7 separate regions of the Homo sapiens genome follow, and regions 1, 3, 4, 5, 6 and 7 are each linked to region 2. Evidence: promoter capture Hi-C in 16 types of primary human blood cells and fetal thymus (Javierre and others, 2016). All regions are on one chromosome and are shown on one strand. Each heading gives the region's core, a stretch centred on a gene start or on the middle of the fragment in contact. The rest is flanking DNA. Distances are from core to core; before and after follow the strand shown.

What was found. The method cuts DNA at HindIII sites, captures the fragments that hold promoters and counts their contacts. A CHiCAGO score of 5 or more calls a contact.
Region 1: a contact is called between a fragment that was not itself captured here and the fragment with the promoter of CCDC59 in region 2, in 5 of 17 cell types (total CD8 T cells, total CD4 T cells, total B cells and 2 more). The highest score is 13.8, in total CD8 T cells.
Region 3: a contact is called between a fragment that was not itself captured here and the fragment with the promoter of CCDC59 in region 2, in 2 of 17 cell types (total CD4 T cells and naive CD4 T cells). The highest score is 8.9, in total CD4 T cells.
Region 4: a fragment that was not itself captured here is called in contact with the fragment with the promoter of CCDC59 in region 2 in 1 of 17 cell types (total CD4 T cells); the score reaches 6.1 in total CD4 T cells.
Region 5: a contact is called between a fragment that was not itself captured here and the fragment with the promoter of CCDC59 in region 2, in 1 of 17 cell types (non-activated CD4 T cells). The highest score is 6.9, in non-activated CD4 T cells.
Region 6: a fragment that was not itself captured here is called in contact with the fragment with the promoter of CCDC59 in region 2 in 1 of 17 cell types (activated CD4 T cells); the score reaches 9.0 in activated CD4 T cells.
Region 7: a contact is called between a fragment that was not itself captured here and the fragment with the promoter of CCDC59 in region 2, in 4 of 17 cell types (non-activated CD4 T cells, naive B cells, naive CD4 T cells and 1 more). The highest score is 10.1, in non-activated CD4 T cells.

Annotation. Positions count from the first base shown.
Region 1 is chr12:100,208,501-100,211,452 of GRCh38, forward strand. It overlaps ACTR6 (actin related protein 6), which reads left to right. Exons shown (of 11, transcript NM_022496.5): 5 at 1,573-1,708; 6 at 1,795-1,851. Among named protein-coding and RNA genes, the nearest start is that of ACTR6, 9.2 kb to the left of the region's middle. The HindIII fragment of the contact is 3,656 bases long and covers 1-2,952 here.
Region 2 is chr12:82,357,024-82,359,939 of GRCh38, forward strand. It overlaps CCDC59 (coiled-coil domain containing 59), which reads right to left and starts at 1,364. Exons shown (of 4, transcript NM_014167.5): 1 at 1,200-1,364; 2 at 1-246. The coding sequence starts at 1,353. METTL25 (methyltransferase like 25) reads left to right here and starts at 1,506. Exons shown (of 12, transcript NM_032230.3): 1 at 1,506-1,801. The coding sequence starts at 1,543. RefSeq lists enhancers at 1,173-1,733, 1,244-1,803, 1,734-2,294. The HindIII fragment of the contact is 1,548 bases long and covers 1,129-2,676 here.
Region 3 is chr12:98,589,167-98,592,091 of GRCh38, forward strand. It overlaps the pseudogene PPIAP8. Among named protein-coding and RNA genes, the nearest start is that of SLC25A3, 3.1 kb to the right of the region's middle. The HindIII fragment of the contact is 4,505 bases long and covers 1-2,925 here.
Region 4 is chr12:100,277,564-100,280,299 of GRCh38, forward strand. All of the region lies in intron 1 of SCYL2 (SCY1 like pseudokinase 2), which reads left to right. It also overlaps a transcript of DEPDC4 not described here. Among named protein-coding and RNA genes, the nearest start is that of SCYL2, 12 kb to the left of the region's middle. The HindIII fragment of the contact is 2,998 bases long and covers 1-2,736 here.
Region 5 is chr12:100,131,998-100,135,033 of GRCh38, forward strand. All of the region lies in intron 1 of BLTP3B (bridge-like lipid transfer protein family member 3B), which reads right to left. Among named protein-coding and RNA genes, the nearest start is that of BLTP3B, 9.4 kb to the right of the region's middle. The HindIII fragment of the contact is 6,169 bases long and covers 1-3,036 here.
Region 6 is chr12:102,069,972-102,073,012 of GRCh38, forward strand. No RefSeq gene overlaps it. Among named protein-coding and RNA genes, the nearest start is that of WASHC3, 9.5 kb to the left of the region's middle. The HindIII fragment of the contact is 2,992 bases long and covers 221-3,041 here.
Region 7 is chr12:101,277,259-101,279,958 of GRCh38, forward strand. No RefSeq gene overlaps it. Among named protein-coding and RNA genes, the nearest start is that of UTP20, 1.5 kb to the right of the region's middle. RefSeq lists an enhancer at 2,546-2,700. The HindIII fragment of the contact is 2,455 bases long and covers 132-2,586 here.

The DNA of each region.
Region 1 (2,952 bases), core at 257-2,756, about 18 Mb after region 2:
CTGATCTCAAGTGATCCACCCGCCTTGCCCTCCCAAAATGCTGGGATTACAGGCATGAGCCACTGCGCAAGTTTTGGAATCTTAAAACTAAATGGACCCTTAGAGATTATATAGTCAGACATCTCTCATTTTATCTTTTTACTAATATTTCTTCTAATGAAGTTACTGGCCACATATTTCTTATTTCTGAAAGATTCTGAGGTAGTTATCTTTCCTGTCATTTATGTGTTTGCAATTATTATTGTTTGTTTGTTTGTTTTTGTTAAGTCAGGGTCTTGCTCTGTTGCCCAGGCTAGAGTGTGGTGGCACAAACATGGCTCACTGTAGCCTCCACCTCCTGGGCTCAAGGGATCCTCCCGCCTCAGCCTCCCAAGTAGCTGGGACCACAGGTATGTGCTGCCACATCTGGCTGATTTATTTATTTTTTGTAGAGACAGGGTCTCATTTTGTTGCCTAGGCTGGTCTCGAACTCCTGGACTGAAGTCATCTTCCCGCCTTGGCCTCCCATAGTGCTGGGATTATTGGCATAAGCCACGGCTCCAGGCCGAATTCTTATTGTTTGAAATAATGTTAGTAGCTCAGGCTGCCAGTGTGAGGGAGAACAATCTGTAAATATCATCTAGAAGCAAGTGTATTACAGGCTTAGATTACATGACATGGTTGGGTACAATGAAAGTATTTAAATATTTAACTTTCAGAATTTAAGTCCATATAAGCAGCAGTATGGGCAGTGGTTAAGGGCACAATCTCAACCAGGTGTAGTGGCTCATGCCTGTAATCCCAGAACTTTGGGAGGCCAAGGCAGCAGGACCACTTTAGGCTAGATGGTCAACATAGTGAGACTCCATCTCTACAAAAGAAAATTAAAAAATTAACCAGGCATGGTGGTGCATGTGTACAGTCCCAGCTACTGGAGAGGCTGAGGCAAGAGGATCACTTGAGCCCGGGAGGTGGAGGTTGCAGTGTGCCATGATCATTACCACCGGGAAGGTGCTACTGGCATCTCATGGGTAGAGGCCAAGATGCTGTTAAACATCCTACAACGCATAGGAAAGCCCTCTACAACAAGGAGTTATCCAACCCCCAATGTCAATAGTTCTGAGGTCTCAACCTACTGCCTAGGTTTGAATCCTGGCTCTGGTACTTCCTAACTGTGTGGCTTTGAGCACATTACTTTACTTCTCTGAGCTTCAGGTTCCTTATCTGTAAAATGGAATTGTTTTGAGTATTAACACACACACTCATTATACAGATTTTAGAATAGAGTCTGGCATGTAATAAATGATCAGTAAAAATGAGCTGCTGTTGTAGTAATTCTTTTAAACTATGGAGTGAATATTTACCTTTAAAAACGGATACCAAATTTTTATTATGTTTACCATGTAAGTGTGGTGTTTTAAAGTATAAACACAATAAAGATCTTTTGACAGTTATGAATAGTATTATAAATTAACATTTTTCTTGTAATAAAGGGAACATTTTTGTCTTGGTGCTTGTCTTTGTTTCCTACCTTTTTAATTGCTTTAAATTAGTGTTATATTTTTGTTCACTTTTTTATCTTTTTTTAAATAGCTGGGGCTCTCAGTGCACATAGGTATTTCCGAGATAATCCTTCCGAATTATGCTGTATCATTGTTGATAGTGGATATTCCTTTACACATATAGTTCCTTATTGTAGAAGTAAAAAGAAAAAAGAAGCAATTATTCGGTGAGTTGTATTTAATTTTCATGTTGTTTCTAAAGATTAAACAGAATGATATGTGCGATAATTAAATTTGAGTTCTCCCCTTGCAGGATAAATGTGGGAGGAAAACTCTTAACCAATCATCTAAAGGAGATCATATCTTACAGGTGATGCTTAGCTTTGATTCTTTGGGAGGATGGGGCTCTGGGGAGGAACCTTTTACAGTAATTTAAGATTATTCCTTACTTTTAAGGCCAGTCATTGTGACTCACGCCTGTAATCCCAGCACATTGGGAGGCCGAGGTGGGTGCATCACTTGAGGCCAGGAGTTCGAGACCAGCCTGGGCAACCTGGTGAAACCCCACTTCTACTAAAAATACAAAAATTAGCCAGGTGTGGTGGTACACACCTGTAATCCCAGCTACTCGGGAGGCTGAGGCATGAGAATCATTTGAACCAGGAGGTGGAGGTTGCAGTGAGCCGAGATCGCGCCACTTCACTCCAGCCTGGGTGACAAAGTGAGACTCTCTCTCTCTCAAAAAAAAAAAAAAATTGTAAATGTTGTACATTAACATAACTTATGCTACTATTTTTAATTTTATTGTGTTTAACACATAAGTAGAATTCTTAAATCTCAATTTCTTGTTACATTAACTTTGGATGGTATCATACCATCAGGATCCCTTTGCTCCCCTATGTGCCCTACTCCTTTGTATTTGCTCCCTGACTGTGTCGCTGACCCCTGGCAACTACTAATTGGCTTTCCATCGCTATATGTTTGTTATCTGAAGAATGTTAGTTTCTTTTTGTTTGTTTTCTTTTTACAATTTTATTATTACTATTATTGTTATTTGAGGCAGGGTCTCACAGTGTTGCCCATGCTGGTCTCAAACTCCTGGGCTCAAAAGATCTCCCATTTCAGCCTCCCTTAGTAGCTGGGATTACTGACCTGCACTTCGCGCCCCTGAGCTTGGCAAGAATGTTACAGTCTCAGATAACTAGAAGGAGGATATTGAGTGTTACCAATACACAAAAATGGATAAGTGTTGAAGATGATGAATATTCTAGTTATCCTGATCTGATGCACTGTGTGGGTTTCTTTTTGATTTTGAGACAGGGTCTTTGTCACCCAGGCTGGAGTGCAGTGGTTTGTTCATTACTCACTGCATCCTCAACTCCTTGGCTCAAGAAATTATCCTGCCTCAGCCTCCCAAGTAGCTGGGACCACAGGCATGTGCTACCACACCTGGCTAATTTTTGTATTTTTT
Region 2 (2,916 bases), core at 114-2,613:
AAGGCTCGTCAATGCTACACTGTTCTTCAAGCAACGGCTGGTGAACTTGTTCTGACAAAGGATGGTCGACTTTTCTTGCTTGCTTCCTATGTCTTTCCTCTTCAGCTAAATAGAGATGTTTCAGATTATCTGGGTATCGATCTGTGAATTGAGATTCCAGTGACGTTTGAGCCTTCTTTTCCTTCCGTAGCAATTTCTTGTAACTTTGCTGTATTTTCAGTTTTCTTCGAAAAGCAAAGCCTTGTCCTACATTGAGGAATATCATCCAAAATTACTTTCAGAGAAAAGAAGTTGAACGAAGAATGGAGCTGTTAATTACAAATGAAAACTTTTTTTACGTCATCACATTCAGATTCTAGTATTATATTTTGCTTTAAAAAATTATTTCAAGCAACAAATTTAAGCTGATGGATTGCATAGTAAGTTGGCCCTTTGCAAAAAGACCAGGCTAACAGTCATGCGGAAATCCAAGTAAGAATCTCAAAGAAAAACTGACCAGTTCAGACTGTTGCACAACTTGAGTTTACAGCTGTATTCACAAATCAAAACAAATTCCTTAGTTCATCTAAAACACTTAATCTGAGCCTTCAATAAATGCTTAAAAAATAGGAAAGAAAATGCCACATCTAGTATCTTGGACAAACTACATGTTTTCGAAAATGTTTCAACACGAAAGAAAAAGACAGTGTATGGTTGTCTGAAAAGCTAGCAATTATCGGAAGACTGAATTTAACATTTATATATTCCAAGTGGGATCTAAGAGACCTTACAGACAGCAATACAAAATGACAAACACAAATTAAAGCGAAGGCTGGAGGGCCTCGGGTATTTGTAATAAGGAAGAATTCGGAGCAGTGTTTCTGGCCCTGTCCTCCTCTCTATCCTTTACCTTACCACATGCGCAAGAGTTCACAGGGTCATAGACTCTCTCTGCTCAGTTTCTCAGGAAAAATATAGGAAAAAAGTTCTGATGAAATACAGGGTTACGTCAGAAAAGACGTTTAAATAATAGCAACACTGCTCCGTCTTCCTATCTAGAGCTCTGCGAAGCTCACAGCTTTAGCGGGCTCAGGAATGAATTCCCTTGCCCCAAGTAGGACCGGGTCTGGTTCCTAAATCCTTCTTCCAAGCTTCAGCGAATCTTATATCCTAAAACTTAGCAAGCCTGAGGATTTGCAAATGGTTGCCTTCTTACATACCCTCGCGAACGCTCCCCACGAAGGCTTGCGGGTGGTTAGGCCGCCATGTCTTCTGTCTCACATTCTTATTCCTGTACCCGACAGTGGAAACCCCTTCACCACGCGCCTCAATACCACCAGGCCGCCACTTCGCGGACCGCCTCACCGGCGCCATTGCAGCCGACTAACTGCGTCATCAGAAGACCACGACGGACGCCCACAAAATACGTCACCAAGCCGAAGCAATCAATCGCTCAGAAGGAATCCGGCTCGGAGCTCTACTGAGCCTGCCTGTGCTAATTTGGGCCGAGCTGGCGCCTCACGGCCATGTTTGCGCCACCTACAGCCTCGGAGGGTGAGCGTCATGGCGGCTTCTTGCCCTCTCCCGGTGACCCCGGACCTGCCCACGCTGCGTGCCAAGTTGCAGGGACTGCTGCAGTTCCTGAGGGATGCCCTGTCCATTTCCAATGCACATACCGTGGATTTCTACACAGAATCCGTGTGGGAGGAGCTGGTCGACTTGCCACCGGAGACAGTGCTGGCTGCGCTGAGGAAGTCAGCGTCGGAGACGGAGGCCCTGCCCTCAGAGACGCGCCCCCTAGTGGAAGCAGAGTGGGAAGCAGGTGGGTGGTGGGGTAGGCGGGGCGGGAAGGGAGGCGGAGGAGAAGGTCCCGGCAGACGAAGCGAGCCCCCTGGTGGAAGCCAGCAGAACCAGGTGCGTGGCGGCGGAGGCGGGGCGGCCCGCTGGGAAACCGAGGAGGGGTCGGATTAGTTGAGGGGTGGGGTGGGGATGTTCTTTGGAATCAGGATCACTCTTTCTTTGGGTGCTTGTGTATGTCCACAATTTAAAGAAAGCAGGAAACAGGGCAGGGGAGTTCCTTCATCTAGTAATTCCATAATAATTGACGCTAGGGAAACTAGGGGAGCAGTGCTCTCACAGGTTTTATAAATGCCAGCATGTGGTGGAAGATTACTCAACAGTTAATAAAGATAATTTCAAGTGGTGGTAATGAAGTAGAAAATAAAAACAGTGTAATGTGGTAGGGATTGTGTAAGGAGGCTGCCTCAATTTAGGAGGTCAGGAACATGAGAAGGCACTAGCTGCAGAGCCACAGGGAGGGGTTGCAGGCGGTGGGAACCGCAGGCTAGGCTTGGCTCTAGCCAGGTGAGGGGCTGCAGGTGCAGGACGGGAGGCAAGCAGAGGCCAGATGGCACAGGCCTTTCTAGGCCTTGGAAGGATTTTGGATTTTAAGTGTGACGGAAACCCTTGGGATTATTTAGGCAACATAGTGACCTAATTCACATTTGAAAAGATAACTGTGAATTATTTGAAGAATAGACTAGGGCAAAAGCTGAAGCTGAGAGGCCAGTTAGGAGACTACCTCAGTAGTACAACAGATGATTGTATCTTGGACTAGGATGGTATTCGGATAGTCACTATTTCATTTAAAAACTATTTTAAAGTACCTAATATGTGTCTTGAATTTTTGTAGGCTCAAGCTTTTCCTACCCTCAAGAAATGTAGATTCTTCTCAGGCAAGCATATTTTGGAAGTAGAATGATGGACACCAACAGGCTTCTGGGATTTTTACTTTCCTTCTAGACTTCCCAAAGTTACCCTTACTAGTGAACTTTATTCATTGAGCATTCTCTGAATGCAAAGCATCACTAGAGGGACCTCTTATAATAGCACTTGGTAAATACTGTTGTTGTTTTTTTAAGTAATTGTTATTGAAAA
Region 3 (2,925 bases), core at 317-2,816, about 16 Mb after region 2:
TGAGTAGCTGGTACCACAGCCGCGCGCCACCACGCCCAGCTAATTTTTGTATTTTTAGTAGAGACAGGGTTTCACCGTCTTGGCCAGGCTGGTCTTGAACTCCTGACCTTGTGATCGTCCACCTTGGCCTCCCAAAGTGCTGAGATTACAGGCATGAGCCACCGCACCTGGTCGCCTTGACTGCTTTGCTGTATCTGCAAGACTGTACTTTCTAAAAATCAAACTCAAAATCTAATTCTGAATTACAATGCAAATTGAATTCCCAATCTCATAGTGTTTAAAGTTAGGGCAATGTTTTGAGACCCAAAATTTTGGAATAGTGACACCTGGGCAGATTATGATTCCACTAGGACCATGAACCCCCATATTCTTTTTTTTTTTCTTTTTTGAGACAAGATCTCTAACTGTTGCTTAGGCTGGAGTACAATGGCGCGATCTCGGCTCACTGCTACCTCTGCTTCCCAGGCTCAAGTGATCCTCCCTCCTCAGCCTCTTGCGTAGCTGGGACTGCAGGGGCATGCCACTATGCCTGGCTTTTTTTTTTTTTTTTTTTTAAGAGACAGGGTTTCACCATGTTGTCCAGGCTGGTTTTTAACTCCTGGACTCAAGAGATCCACCTACCTCGGCTTCCCAAAGTTCTGGGATTATAGGCGTGAGCCACCATGCCCAGCCAGAACCCCTAAATTCTGTTGAGCCTCCTTGTCAGTCAAAGAAGCCCTTCCTCTCCTGTCTGAGGAGGTTATGTTCCTCGTCCCTGTGAAATCTGTAATGGCCTCACCTGAGGTGGTTGCCTGGCGGGATCTGCTGATTCTTCTTAAAACCTACTGTCCACTTTGGGAGGCCGAGGCAGGTGGATCACCTGAGGTTGGGAGTTCGAGACCAGACTGACCAACATGGAGAAACCCCATCTCTACTAAAAATACAAAATTAGCCGGGCATGGTGGCGCGTGCCTGTAATCCCAGCTACTCCGGAGGCTGAGGCAGGAGAATTGCTTGAACCCGGGAGGCAGATTTGAATCTCCACAGTGGAGAGTTATGGTCCTTCAGGCAATTTCCCTACTTGTGTCAGGTTGGAGGCCGAGAGCCTCTTGAATGTTAAGGAGGCCAACCCCCTTGTCTTAGTCCATACCTGCTGCAATAACATCACCTAAAGACGGATAAAAGGATTTTGTATCCTCTTTTGGGTAGAATTAGCTTGTTCACAATTGTCCAAGGGACAGCTGCTTCATGTTAGGTAGAAGTCTGATTTTGCTCTTTAGTTTTTGTCTGGAAGTTAAATATGATTACAAGAGGTGTTCATTGATGCCATGTTGACAACCGATAGACTCTGGTACTTTTTTTGTTGCTGTTGTTAATTAGTTTTTATTTCATAATCATAAACTTAACTCTGCAATCTAGCTAGGCATGGAAAGGAACAAGGAAAACATAGAACCCAAAGGGAACTGCAGTGAGAGCACAAAGATTCTAGGATACTGCGAGCAAATGGGGTGGAGGGTGCTCTCCTGAGCTACAGAAGGAATGGTCTGGTGGTTAAGATAAAACACAAGTCAAACTTATTAGAGTTGCCCACAGTCAGCAATGGTGATCTTCTTACTGGTCTTGCCATTCCTGGACCCAAAGCACTCCATGGTCTCCACAATATTCATGCCTTCTTTCACCTTGCTGAAGACCACATGCTTGCCATCCAACCACTCAGTCTTGGCAGCACAGATGAAAAACTGGGAACTGTTTGCGTTGGGTCCAGCATTTGCCATGGACAAGATGCCAGAAACTGTATGCTTCCGGATGAAGTTCTTGTCATCAAATTTCTCCCTGTAGATGGACTTGCCACCAGTGCCATCATGGCATGTGAAGTCTCCACCCTGACACATAAACCCTGGAACAATTCTGTGAAAGCAGGAACCCTTATAGCCAAATCCTTTCTCTCCAGTGCTCAGAGCATGAAAGTTTCCTGCTGTCTTTGGAAACTTGTCTGCAAACAGCTCAAAGGAGATGCGGCCCAAGGGCTCCGTGTCAAAGAACACGGTGGGGTTGACCATGGCTGATAGCACAGGGCTCCTGGCAGCAGCGGTGCCTGCAAAGCCCAGTGGTGTTTTTTTTACCATGTCAACTTAGCTAGGCTAGAACCACATTTCCTAGATTCCTTTCCCTGCATAGTTTTGGGTTAGGGCTAGCTATAAGAGAAATGTGTGCAGTTTGGAAGGCAGAAGTGGAGCAACAGTCATTACATTCTGAAGGTCACCAGCTCCCACATGGGGTAGGAGCTGGGCCTGCAGCTCCTTCAGTTACCACTGTATCTTCTAGATCAACTTCTGTGAGTTCTGGGCCACGAGCATGTGCAGCCCCATGGTGAAGGGTACCAGCTGTTCCAGCTGAAAAAATGTGCAGCAAAGGGTCACGGTATTACCCGGTGCTGGGGGAAGGGAATAGGAAGATTCACTACAGTCATATATTTTTACATAATATTTGACTTTTTCATGACAAAGGATTTTTAAATTAGAAAAGCACCATAAAGTTGAATTAACCAAAAAAGAGAGAGAGAAAGTCCAGACCCTTCAGTGACTACCTCTGTCTACATAAGATCAGACTCCTCAGTCTGGTATGTGAGGCCCTGGACAATCAGGTGCTAGTGTACTTTTTTAACTTTATCTGTCACTACTTCCCTTCCTGTGCCCTCCACTCTGGAATTCTTCCTGGGACTGTAGGACTTTAGTTGGGCCAGAAGGGCTGGGTCTGGGATAGGGTTGCTTAGAGAGTGCCGTGATGCCGCAGCCTCAATGCTAACTTTTGTTTTTTTGTTTTTTTTTTTTTTTGAGACGGAGTCTTGCTCTGTCGCCCAGGCTGGAGTGCAGTGGCATGATCTCGGCTCACTGCAAGCTCTGCCTCCTGGGTTCACGCCATTCTCCTGCCTCAGTCTCCTCAGTA
Region 4 (2,736 bases), core at 211-2,710, about 18 Mb after region 2:
TACTTTCACATTCTTTTACCTGTGTTTTTATACTTTTAAAGTGGGTTTTTGTAAGCAGCATATAGTTAGGTCTTGCTTTTTTATCCAATTTGATAATCTCTGCCTTGTAATTGAAATTTTAAATTATTTACACTTAATGTAATTTATTGATATGGTTGGATTTAAGTCAACCATCTTGCTATTTATTTTGTATTTGCCACATTTGTTTTTTGTTCCTTCCTCTTTTCCGCTTCTTTTTATATTCAGTTTACTTTAGGGTTTTTTTTACTAACTAAATTTTATCTCTACAATTTAGTTATATCACTTTATTATTTTGTTGTTATTTTTATTTTGTTATTATTTGAGGGTCTACAGTATATATCTTTTAACTTTAAATACCACAACCTGCCTTCAAATGATACTGTACTGCCTCAAATATAATGTAAGGATCTTTAAAAAATATACTTATATTTCCCCTCCTGTTCTTTCTTGTTACAGTTTCTTCTGCATATATTATAAACACAATACATTTTTATTATTTTTGCTTTAAATGATCAGCTATCTTTTAAAGGTATTATGACGTGAAAAGTATTTTATATACCCACATCATTTTTTATTTTTATTATTCTGGTTTAAAAACTTTAAGTTTTTTTTGTTTTGTTTTGTTTTGTTTTAGAGAGAGGGTCTTGTTCTGTCACCCGGGCTGGAGTGCAGTGGTGCAATCACAACTCACTGCAGCCTCCACCTCCTGGTCTCAATTGATTCTTCTGCCTCAGCCTCCTGAGTAGATGAGACTACAGTCAGATGACACCATACCTGGATAATTTTTCTATTTTTTGTAGAGATGGGGTCTTACTGTGTTGCCTAGGCTCATCTCGAACTGCTGGGCTCAAGTGATCCTCCCATCTCTAATAGTTTTTATAGTGATTATCTGTTGTTTTTCTGAAGATGTCTTTATTTCACATTGAGTTTTGAAAGTTTTTTCCCCAACCTGTAGAATTCTAGGCTGACAGTTTCGTTTAGCAGTTTAAAGACCTCATTCAGTTGTTCTTTGGCATGTGTTGTTTCTGCCAAATTTGGGGAAATTCTTTTTTTTTTTTTTTTTTGAGATGGAGTCTTGCTCCCTCGCCAAGCTGGAGTGCAGTGGCGTGATCTCGGCTTACTGCAACCTTCACCTCCCGGGTTCAAGCAATTCTTCTGCCTCAGCCTCCTGAGTAGCTGGGACTACAGGCGCGTACCACCATGCCCAGTTAATTTTTGTATTTTTAGTAGAGATGGGGTTTCTCCATGTTTGCCAGGATGGTCTCCATCTTTTGACCTTGTGATCTGCCTACCTCAGCCTCCCAAAGTGCTGGGATTACAGGCGTGAGCCACCGCGCCTGGCCAGTCTGAGGAAATTCTTATCTTTGTTCTTATATGTAATTTACTTGTTTTCTGTGGCTGCTTTTAAGATTTTTCTTTTAATCACTGATTTTCAGCTATTTGGTATATCTATGTATGGGTTTCTTTGTGTTTATCCTGTGTGTGGTTTATTTAATTTCTTGGAGCTTTGTATAGCAGCAGTCCCCAACCTTTTTGGCACCAGGGACCGGATTCGTGGAAGACAGTTTTTCCACAGATGGGGGATGGGAGGCTTGGTTTCAGGGTGAAACTCTTCTACCTCAGATCATCAGGCATTAGTTAGATTCTCATAAGGAGCACACAACCTAGGTCCCTTGCATGTGCAGTTCACAGTAGGGTTCAGGCTCCTTTGAGAATCTATTGCTGCCACCTATCTGAGAGGAGGCGGAGCTTAGGCAGTAATGCTTGCTCGCCTACCGCTCACCTCCTGCTCTGCAGCCCGGTTCCTAATAGGCCGTGGACTGGTACTGATCTGGCGGCCTAGGGGTTGGGGTCTACTGTTGTATAAGTCACATCGTCTTGCTTCTTGGCATGTCTGATAGTTGTTGATTGCCTGCTGAATATTGTGAATGTTACATTGTTTAGTATCTGAATTTTTTTGTGCATGTTATGTGTCTTTCATGACTATTGGGTTTTGTTCTGGTAGGCTGTTTAGTAATTTATGATTACTTTGGTCATTTGATAATTGATTTTAGAGTGGATTTAGATTAGCTTTTACTCTAAGGGTGGCTTACCCCACTATTAAGGCATGGTTCTTACAGGTTTCTGCTGATTGTCTTAGTGGTCAGTGAAGACTCACTACTCTGGCTGATGAGATATCAAATGATTTGCAGCCTTGTGTGAACTTTGAAACTATTCAACTGATAGCTCTCTAGTTTGGTTCTTGCCAGACCTGGTGGAGTGTCACACTATGCATAAGCATGTGTGGGACCAGGGAACAGAGCATGAAGGGGACCAGTTTGCATTTTCTTCAGCATAGCTTCATTCACTTTGAAATTGTATCTCAGAACTTTCATCTACCTCCGCATTCTTGAATGCCAGTTTGTCCCTCCAGCTTCTCAATTCAGCTAGATAGCTACTTGGAATTCTGCTCTATGCTCTGTAGTTTGGAATGTGCCTCTGGGGCAATCCTGGTTCTCTTGTTCTCTTTCTTACTGGGGTCAAAGGCTCTTGCTGCCTGTTCAATGTCTGAAAAAATGTGTTTAATACATTTTGTTCAGTTTTCTAGTTGTTAAAAGCAAGAGGGCAGATTCACTCTTTGTTCCTCCCTCATGGGCAGAAGTTATTTATTCATTTATTTACTTAGAGTAATATTTTTAAATGTATGAAATAAAATGTATAGAAAAAATTGTTTTG
Region 5 (3,036 bases), core at 118-2,617, about 18 Mb after region 2:
GCCAGGCTGGTCTCGAACTCCTGACCTCAGGTGATCTACCCGCCTTGGCCTCCCAAAGTGCTGGGATTACAGGCGTGAACCACCGTGCCCAGCCACACCCACTGTTAAAAAAATTATTTGTCCTAAGCATACAATATGCAGAATTTAAAACACATGTAATTGATAAGAGATCAACTTATTTAAAAAGTGTTTAAACTGCAGTACTAAAGCAAAGTGTAATACTGCAAAAAAGGAAAATTATTCAAAAAAAGAAAAGAAAAAAAGACATTATGTTTTCCCGCTAGAGTCTCAATATGGTTTATTTGTCCCCACCAAAATTCATGTTGAAATCTGATCCCGAATGTGACAGTGTTGGGAGGTGGCGCCTAGTAGGTAGGAAGTGTTTGGGTCATGGGGGCAGATTCTTCATAAATGGCTTGGTATTGTTCTTGCAGTAGTAAGTTCTCACAGAAAATAAAGTAGTTCTCACGTGCGTAGGTTGTTATAAAGCCAAGACATCCCTCAGGCTCTGCCCTCTTTAAGTGTCCACTTCCCCTTACCTTCTCCACTATGTTGTCATGCAGCATAAAAGCCCTATCTGGAAGCCAGCACCATGCCCTTGAACTTCTCAGCCAGTAGAACCACGAGCTAAATAAACCTCTTTTCTTTATAAATAAACCTATTTTTTGGCCGGGTGTGGTGACTCACGCCTGTAATCCCAGCACTTTGGGAGGCCAAGGCAGGTGGATCACTTGAGGCCAGGAGTCTTGAGACCAGCCTAGCCAACACGGTGAAACCCCATCTCTACTAAAAATACAAAAATTAGCCAGGCGTGGTGGCACATGACTGTAATCCCAGCTACTCCGGAGGCTGAGGCATAAGAATTGCTTAAGCCTGAGAGGTGGAGGTTACAGTGAGCTGAGATTGTGCCACTATTCTCCAGCCTGAGCAACAGAGTAAACTCTGTCTCAAAAATAAATAAATAGGCCGGGCGTGGTGGCTCACATCTGTAATCCCAGCACTTTCAGAGGCCAAGGCAGGCAGATCACGAGGTCAGGAGATGGAGACCATCCTGGCTAACACGGTGAAACCCTGTCTCTACAAAAATAAAAAAATTTAGCTGGGGGTGGTGGTGGGTGCCTGTAGTCCCAGCTACTCGGGAGGCTGAGGCAGGAGAATGGCATGAACCCGGGAGGCGGAGCTTGCAGTGAGCCGAGATCACACCACTGCACTCCAGCCTGGGTAACAGAGTGAGACTGTGTCTCAAAAAAATAAATAAATAAATAAACAAATAAAACCTGTCTTTTAAAATAAATTACCCAGCCCCATAATCTTTTATAGCAACATAAAATGGCCTGAGACATCCCCCAACTTTCAAGAAATGCTGAGTCAAAACATTATGTTCCTCTAACTTCAAAGGACCGCAGAGTCAAATGATTCTCAAGTCATAAAAGAATCTCCTAAGGGATACTACAGCAGGATGGTAAAACAAGAGTAGTGTTGAAAACTGGGTAAAAAGAAAAGCAAACTGTTGAGGTGGGGTGGGGGCGAGTAGGAAACACCTTAATAGGCAGCACAGAAAAATCAATGAAAAGGGTACTGGATCAGTGACTTTACCATTCAACACTATCTGTGAGACCTTGGACAAGTCACAAATGTCAATGTTTTAATAATTTCCTTCTCTGAGATAGGAACAAATCCCTTCTGATTCCAGGATTCTAGTATGCTAATATTGCAACATCTCCTAGACCAAGCACCCAACAAGAATCAGTATCCGGTTTTAGTTGGAAATTAATATGAAAGAGAAAGACACCTGCTATATACAGTAGTCCTCCCTTACCCAAGATTTCCCTTTCCACGGTCTCAGTTACCTGTGGTACAGTACGATAGCTTGAGAAAGAGAGAGATCACATTCATATAACTTTTATTACAATATACAGATATTGTTACAATTTTTCTATTACATATTAGTTTTTGTTAATCTCTGACCATGACTAATTTATAAATTAAACTTTACCAGAGGGATGTACATAAAGAAAAAAACACAATATACATATCGTTCAGTACTATCTGCAGTTTCAGGCATCCACTGGGGGTCTTGAAGTGTGCTGCCCATGGAGGAGGACTACTGTAGTGCATGTACTTAAAAGGATAAAAAAAAACAACAATAGCAAAAAATCCACCCCTGAAAATTCAACTCACAATTCGCTTCCCAGTAATTGTTTATTGCATAAGCCAAAGGATAACCACAAACATACTTCCATTGTTGTCAGACTAAAACATGTATAGTCTAAATTAGATCACAAATAAAAGAGAAGACATCTCCAATTAAATATCTAACATTTGGGCTGGGCGCAGTGGCTCAGGCCTGTAATCCCAAGCACTTTGGGAAGCTGAGGCAGGTGGATCACTTGAGGTCAGGAGTTTGAGACCAGCCTGGCCAACATGATAAAACCTCATCTCTACTAAAAATAAAAAATGTAAAAAAAAATTAGCCAAACATGGTGGCGGCTGCCTGTAATTCCAGCCACTCGGGAGGCTGAGGCAGGAGAATCACTTGAACCCAGAAGGCAGGGGTTGCAGTGAGCTGAGATTGTGCCACTGCACTCCAGCCTGGGCAACAGAACGAGACTCTGTCTCAAAAAAAAAAAAAAATCGAACTTTCATCCAACTTAACATATCCAAAACAAACTCCTGATCTTCTCCCATAAGCCTGCTCCTCCTGCAGTCTTCTCCAATTTTCCGATTTAGTTAATAGCAATTCCACCTTTTCCATTGCTTATGTTGCTTATGTCAAAAACTCTGGATGGTCACCCATTACTGCTCTCCTCTCTTCTCTATCAATCCACATCTTACCTGTCGGTCAATCCTGCCTTTACCTTCAAAATACACCTAGAACCTGACTATCACTATCTCAACAACTCCACTGCATCTGCCTTCGTTCAATCCAATTTCTCTCTCACCTAAATAGTTAACATCTCTTAATTGGGTTCCTGTTTCTGCCCTTGTGCTTCTATTATTTAATTCCCACATGGCTGCCAGAGTGATCCTTGGCTC
Region 6 (3,041 bases), core at 467-2,966, about 20 Mb after region 2:
TGTAAGATCAAAGTTTTATGTTCAACCACCATTAGAAGCACAGATACCAGCAGCATTTATTGTCTTTTACTACATAGAAATAGAAACTTAACTCATTACAGCATTATAAATGCAGTTGGTAGAAATCAGTATTTCATAAATCTTTAAATCAAATTGTTTGTAAAGGCTGAGAAACCTGGTAGTCTCCCCATTACTTACTATTGTTCATGTGGATTTTATAAGCTTACATTAAGTGTTACAAGTCCCAAGGTAAAGTATCCTGTTAAAAATCAGTTAAAAAGGCAAATAGCTGTATAACAAAGACATAAGTTACACAGAAATAAGCTGATCCAAGGAAATTTTCAGACAGACAAACGTCACTTGACCCTACATAAGGGCAACAATTTTTTTTTATTAAGGTAGTTCAAAGAACAGATGAAAATGTCAGAAAGTAGACTAAATGCTTTTGATTTTCCATGAAATCTATGCCCAATGCATGCAAAAGGGCTTATGAGTTTGAGTAATGGATATATCATAACGTGTTTTTTAGCTTTTGTGAAATGAGATCTTCAAAGCTGATACACTAATTATTTTGTTGTGTTACTGTGATTAGGTAACAAATGGTTGCTATAAATTAAAGCCATGTTAATAAAAAAAGTTCTACCCACATTTTAAAAGGCATTATTTTTTAAATGTATTAGAAACAAATGTTAATTGTTTTGAAATTCTTTTCAAATGCCTGTTAAATGTTTTTGAATCAACAAGGTGTTAAAATTAAAGAAACTGAGTGTTCTCTCCTGTCCTTGTTGCTGAGCACACTGTTTGATAAAGATATATTGGAACACAATGCTGCTTCTGAGGACTTGACCAAGCTCTCATGAGGAGTATGTGGAAATGGATCATAATTATCATTTTTATTTGGCAAATTTTATTTAGGCTCAGAGCTAAGGCTATTATTACTTGTATGGTATAAAGTTGGGTTAAACTGAGTTTAACTTTTTGAGGTATAGAAAAACATGGAAAATAGTGTAGAGTGAGAACTTTTTCTCTCCTAAAAACTATTAAAATCAGTCTTGGGCACAATACTGCCTCATAACTTCCCAATCAGCGTTTCTGGGACAATGTCAGATTTTAGACAATTACAGAAAACCAGACACAAATGTGCAAACCAGATTTCAATTTCTTCTCCACTGACATGAGATTTAAAACAGCAACAGAAACATTTCTAGGTCAGTGTCAATATGTAGTCACAAATTACCAAAGTAAGAAACAAATTGGAGTGCATGGGTGTGTGATTTTGTGTTTTGGCATGGGAGAGATATTGAAATATTCATAACGTAGAAGCCAAATCATAAAAATGAAATGGGACTTATGATCCCATCATCATTCTGAAAATGTAGGATTTAGCTCTGACATCTTGCAGATTTGTGATATCCTGACTTTTGTTTGCTTCAATAGTCCTAAATAATACAAGTTTTAGAACATAAGTACAACTTTTTTCTCTTTGATGTTTTAAGTGAAGCAATCCTGAGGAAAACTTAAATTTCAACAGAAGAAAAACCATCTTAGACATATTTATAAACAAACATGGAAAAACTAAAACTGGGACATACACACAATGTGAAATATCTCATATTATCATCAGGAATTAGAAGTGATGACCAATAACTAATTCCTCATAAATACTTCCTCCTGTCTTAGTGTAATATAAACATATTTCGAAGAACAAAGTTTACTAAGAAAAAAACAACATTATACGATTTTAAAATAATTAAACACAATAAAGTTTAACAACAAAGTATAAGTTGGAACATGGTCCTGTAGCCTACTTTTAAGATCTAAAAAAAGAAAAAGAGGTTAGAGTTCTCAATGCTTACATAGGATAAAGTACATTTCACTCCTGAAACTAACAGGTAAAGGCAACCCTCTCATTTCTTGAGAATGTCTTATCTTACAGTCACTATATTAATCCACAAATGGAATCACTATTTTCTTCTGAGGATAACACTTCCTGCCTCTTTTTGGCATAACAGTATACAATCATCATGAGTTATCTTTTCCCAAAACAGCTTCCCCTACTAAAAGATAGAAGTTCTATTGGGTATTTTTTTTTTTTTTTTGAGATGGAGTCTTGCTCTGTCACCCAGGCTAAAGTGCAGTGGTGTAATCTTGGCTCACCACCACCTCTGCCTCCAGGGTTCAAGCGATTCTCATGGCTCAGCCTCCCAAGTAGCTGGGATCATAGGCACGTGCCATCACGTCCTGCTAATTTTGTTTTTGTATTTTTAGTAGAGGTGGGTTTTCAACATGTTGGCCAGGCTGGTTTTGAACTCCTGACCTCAAGTGATCCGCCCACCTCGGCCTCCCGAAGTGTTGGGATTACAGGCATGAGCCACTGCGCCCAGCCCTACTGGGTAATTTCATCAGACAACTTTTATATTTTGGTTAAGCCCTTATTCCAGAGAATCCATTTCTTATATACCCAAGCCCAACATAATCATCTCCTTAATTTCCATCCCTAAATAAAACCCACCCACTTCATGCATCAATTTTTCTAAGTATATGACAACAATTTTTGAACACACTAGCCTTAGAGATGATTTTTATATTTCTTGGACATATCCTGAAATGACAAATTCTTGTAAGAGTCACTATTGATAGCCCTTTGGCTATCCTGATGCTTTTAGGAATCCTTGCCCCATCACAGAGATTCTTAAAGAGAACCATGTCAAAATTCCTTGCTCTTTGCTTTTTCCTTTGTTAGTTCAAAATCTTCTTATGAAGGGGTAAACAAAACAATTTATATCATTTGGTTATAATATTTAACTGTATTAAAAAATTGACTAGGAAATTGCTATAAAATTTTTCATCTGTACTTTAAAGCATGTAAAAGTTGAACCCAAACATCTACATGGTTATAAAATTTCACTGAATTCTTTCTTTTAATTACCTGGAACATTCTCCTATCTCTTAAAAATATAATGTTCTTGATTCTACAATTATTTTAAGACACCTTAAGAATAGAAAACTGGAGTAAAAAATATTTACTGGCATTAAACATA
Region 7 (2,700 bases), core at 109-2,608, about 19 Mb after region 2:
GATGCTTTCGGTATTCCATTAAAGCTTAGAAACTTAGTTTTGAGAGATACCAAAAATCATGTGGTGCAATTCACATCCAATGCTGGAACTATATTACTCTTAAATTTGTCCGGGTCAATGTAAGTATTATAAGCTTTGTTAATTCAACAGACATTCATTAAACAACTCTTATGTTCAAGGGAACTGATGACACAAAGTTGAAAAAGTATAAGGTGTCAGCCCTTAAGGAACTTGTCAGGTAGCCAGGTAGTAGAGAATAAATGGTCATTTATTTATCCACTTAGCAAACATTTATTTCATGCTCTATGCACCAACACAGTATCTTGAAAGACTGGTATTATTGTCATCTCTATTTTATAGATGAGGAAATTGGGTCTCAGAAAGGTTAAGTAATTTCTGAGCTTGCGCAATTATGGTGTCTGGCACATTCTAAGCATCTTTTATCCATTAGCTTATTTACTCTGCATAATCACCACCCGTGAGGTAGCTACTTTTGTTAGCTTCATTTACATATACGGAAATGTCATTCTGAAAGGGTAACTGACCCTACTAATAAATGGCAGAACCAGGATTACCTCCAGACAACCTGGTTCCAGCATCTATGCTCTCAACCACCATGTTCTATTGACATATTGTTAAGCCAGTCAGAGTCAAGTCAGTGTGTGAGGGTCATGTAATGAAGAACAATGCAAACAATAAATGGTCAATATAACTTGTGTCAGTTCTTTCAGTTTCTTTGATTTTTCTCTTCACTCCTTATTGTCCAGTTAACTCCATTACCAAAAATAAATTGCAGAGAAGGAAAATGGCACAATGATGTGGGGGTGATTTTGGCAACAGGTTGGGAAAATATTGCTTTGAGTGGGGGCTTCTACCCTCAGTTAACTGCAGGCTTCTAACTCTCTGAAACGTGCACATTTTAGTGTGGATGAGCTTCTTTGCATCTTTCTGGGAGAAGTTCTACAGCTTTCTTAGATTTCCCTGTGACCCATAAAAGGCTTTTAAAAAAAAAAGACCAATTATTAGCCTACTGAAAGCCAATGGAACATTAGGCACGTCAATATTTTATTATAAAAAAATCTATAAATGCTATGGAGGCATTAAAATATTTAGAACAACCCTGTGGTGACACAGAAAATGTTGATGTGATAATGCCAATAACAATTTGAAAGTGTTATGTTCACTTTCTCAACTCTGATTACCTCCTCAATCCATGCATATTTCACTTCCTTTCTTCCAACTAGACTGTACTTAGCAAGGTCACCAGTGACCTTCACCTTGTCAGATCCAGCAACCACTTCTCTATCCTCGAATTTGCAGTATAGTTGGCCACCAGCTCTGCTTCCATGCCATAACTAGTCTGTTTCTACCTTACTGGCTCTCTTTCCCAGTCGCAAATGCCTCACACTTGAGGTATTTAGGTGTATTTAAGTCACGTCTGCAGCCCAGACTGCTACAGTGAGCTCTGTACAACAATATATCCAATTGTCTACTTAACATCACTCCTTGACTAAAATGTAAGCATCTCAGACCAAGTATTTCCAGTCTGGGCATGGTGGCTCACCCCTGTAATCCCAGCACTTTGGGAGGCCAAGCCAAGAGGACTGCTTGAGTCCAGAAGTTTGATACCAGCCTGGGCAATATAGCAAGATCCCATCTCTACAAATAATAATAATAATAATAATAATAATAATAATAATAATAAAAGAGCTGGGTGTGGTGGTGCATGCCTGTAGCCCTAGCTACTTGGGAGGCTGAGGTGGGAGGCTCACTTTAGCCCAGGAATTGAAGGCTGTGAATATTTTCAAATAATTAATTAATACTATTATTGCCTTTCTCGTTTGGCTCCCAGAACAGTACCTGGTCCACAGAGGACTCTCAAGAAATAGTTGCTGAATGAATGAATGAATGTAAAATGGGGTAAATAATTATATTTTTAAATTATTTTTTAAAATTGTACATATATGTATATATAACTGTACAATTTAACAACATGCTATGTGTAGACATTAAAGTGATGGGAAAAACACCAAACATTAACAGCGGTTGTGCATGAAATTAAAAGATTTTTCTTAAAACTCCTTCTCTATTTTTCAATTTTATTTACAGCGTAGTGGTTAAGAATACCAAAATTTAGAGTCTGAGTGAAGACTGCCAGTTACCAGCTGCACAACCTTGGTTTCCTCTTGTGTCAAATTGGCTTAAAAATATACACAGTACCGGCCAGGCGCGGTGGCTCACACCTGTAATCCCAGCACTTTGGAAAACCGAGGCGGGCGGATTGCCTGAGCTCAGGAGTTCGCGACCAGCCTGGGCAACAAGGTGAAACCCCGTCTCTACTAAAATACAAAAGAATTAGCCGGGCGTGGCGGCGGGTGCCTGTAGTCCCAGCTACTTTGGACGCTGAGGCAGGAGAACTGCTTGAACCCGGGAGGCGGAGATTGTAGTGAGCCGAGATCGCGCCACTGCCCTCCAGCCTGGGAGACAGAGTGAGACTCCGTCTCAAAAAAAAAAAAAAAAAAGTATATATCTATATATAGATATATAGATAGACGCAGTACCTCCTTTGTATTAACATCCCTAATAAGCTTTACTGTGAAATTATGGATGAAAGGATCTTTGCACGATGCAGGTACGTAGTGAGGGACAGTAATGTTAGTTGATAACGATTACAGGTATGTTTTATTTTATAATGAAAAT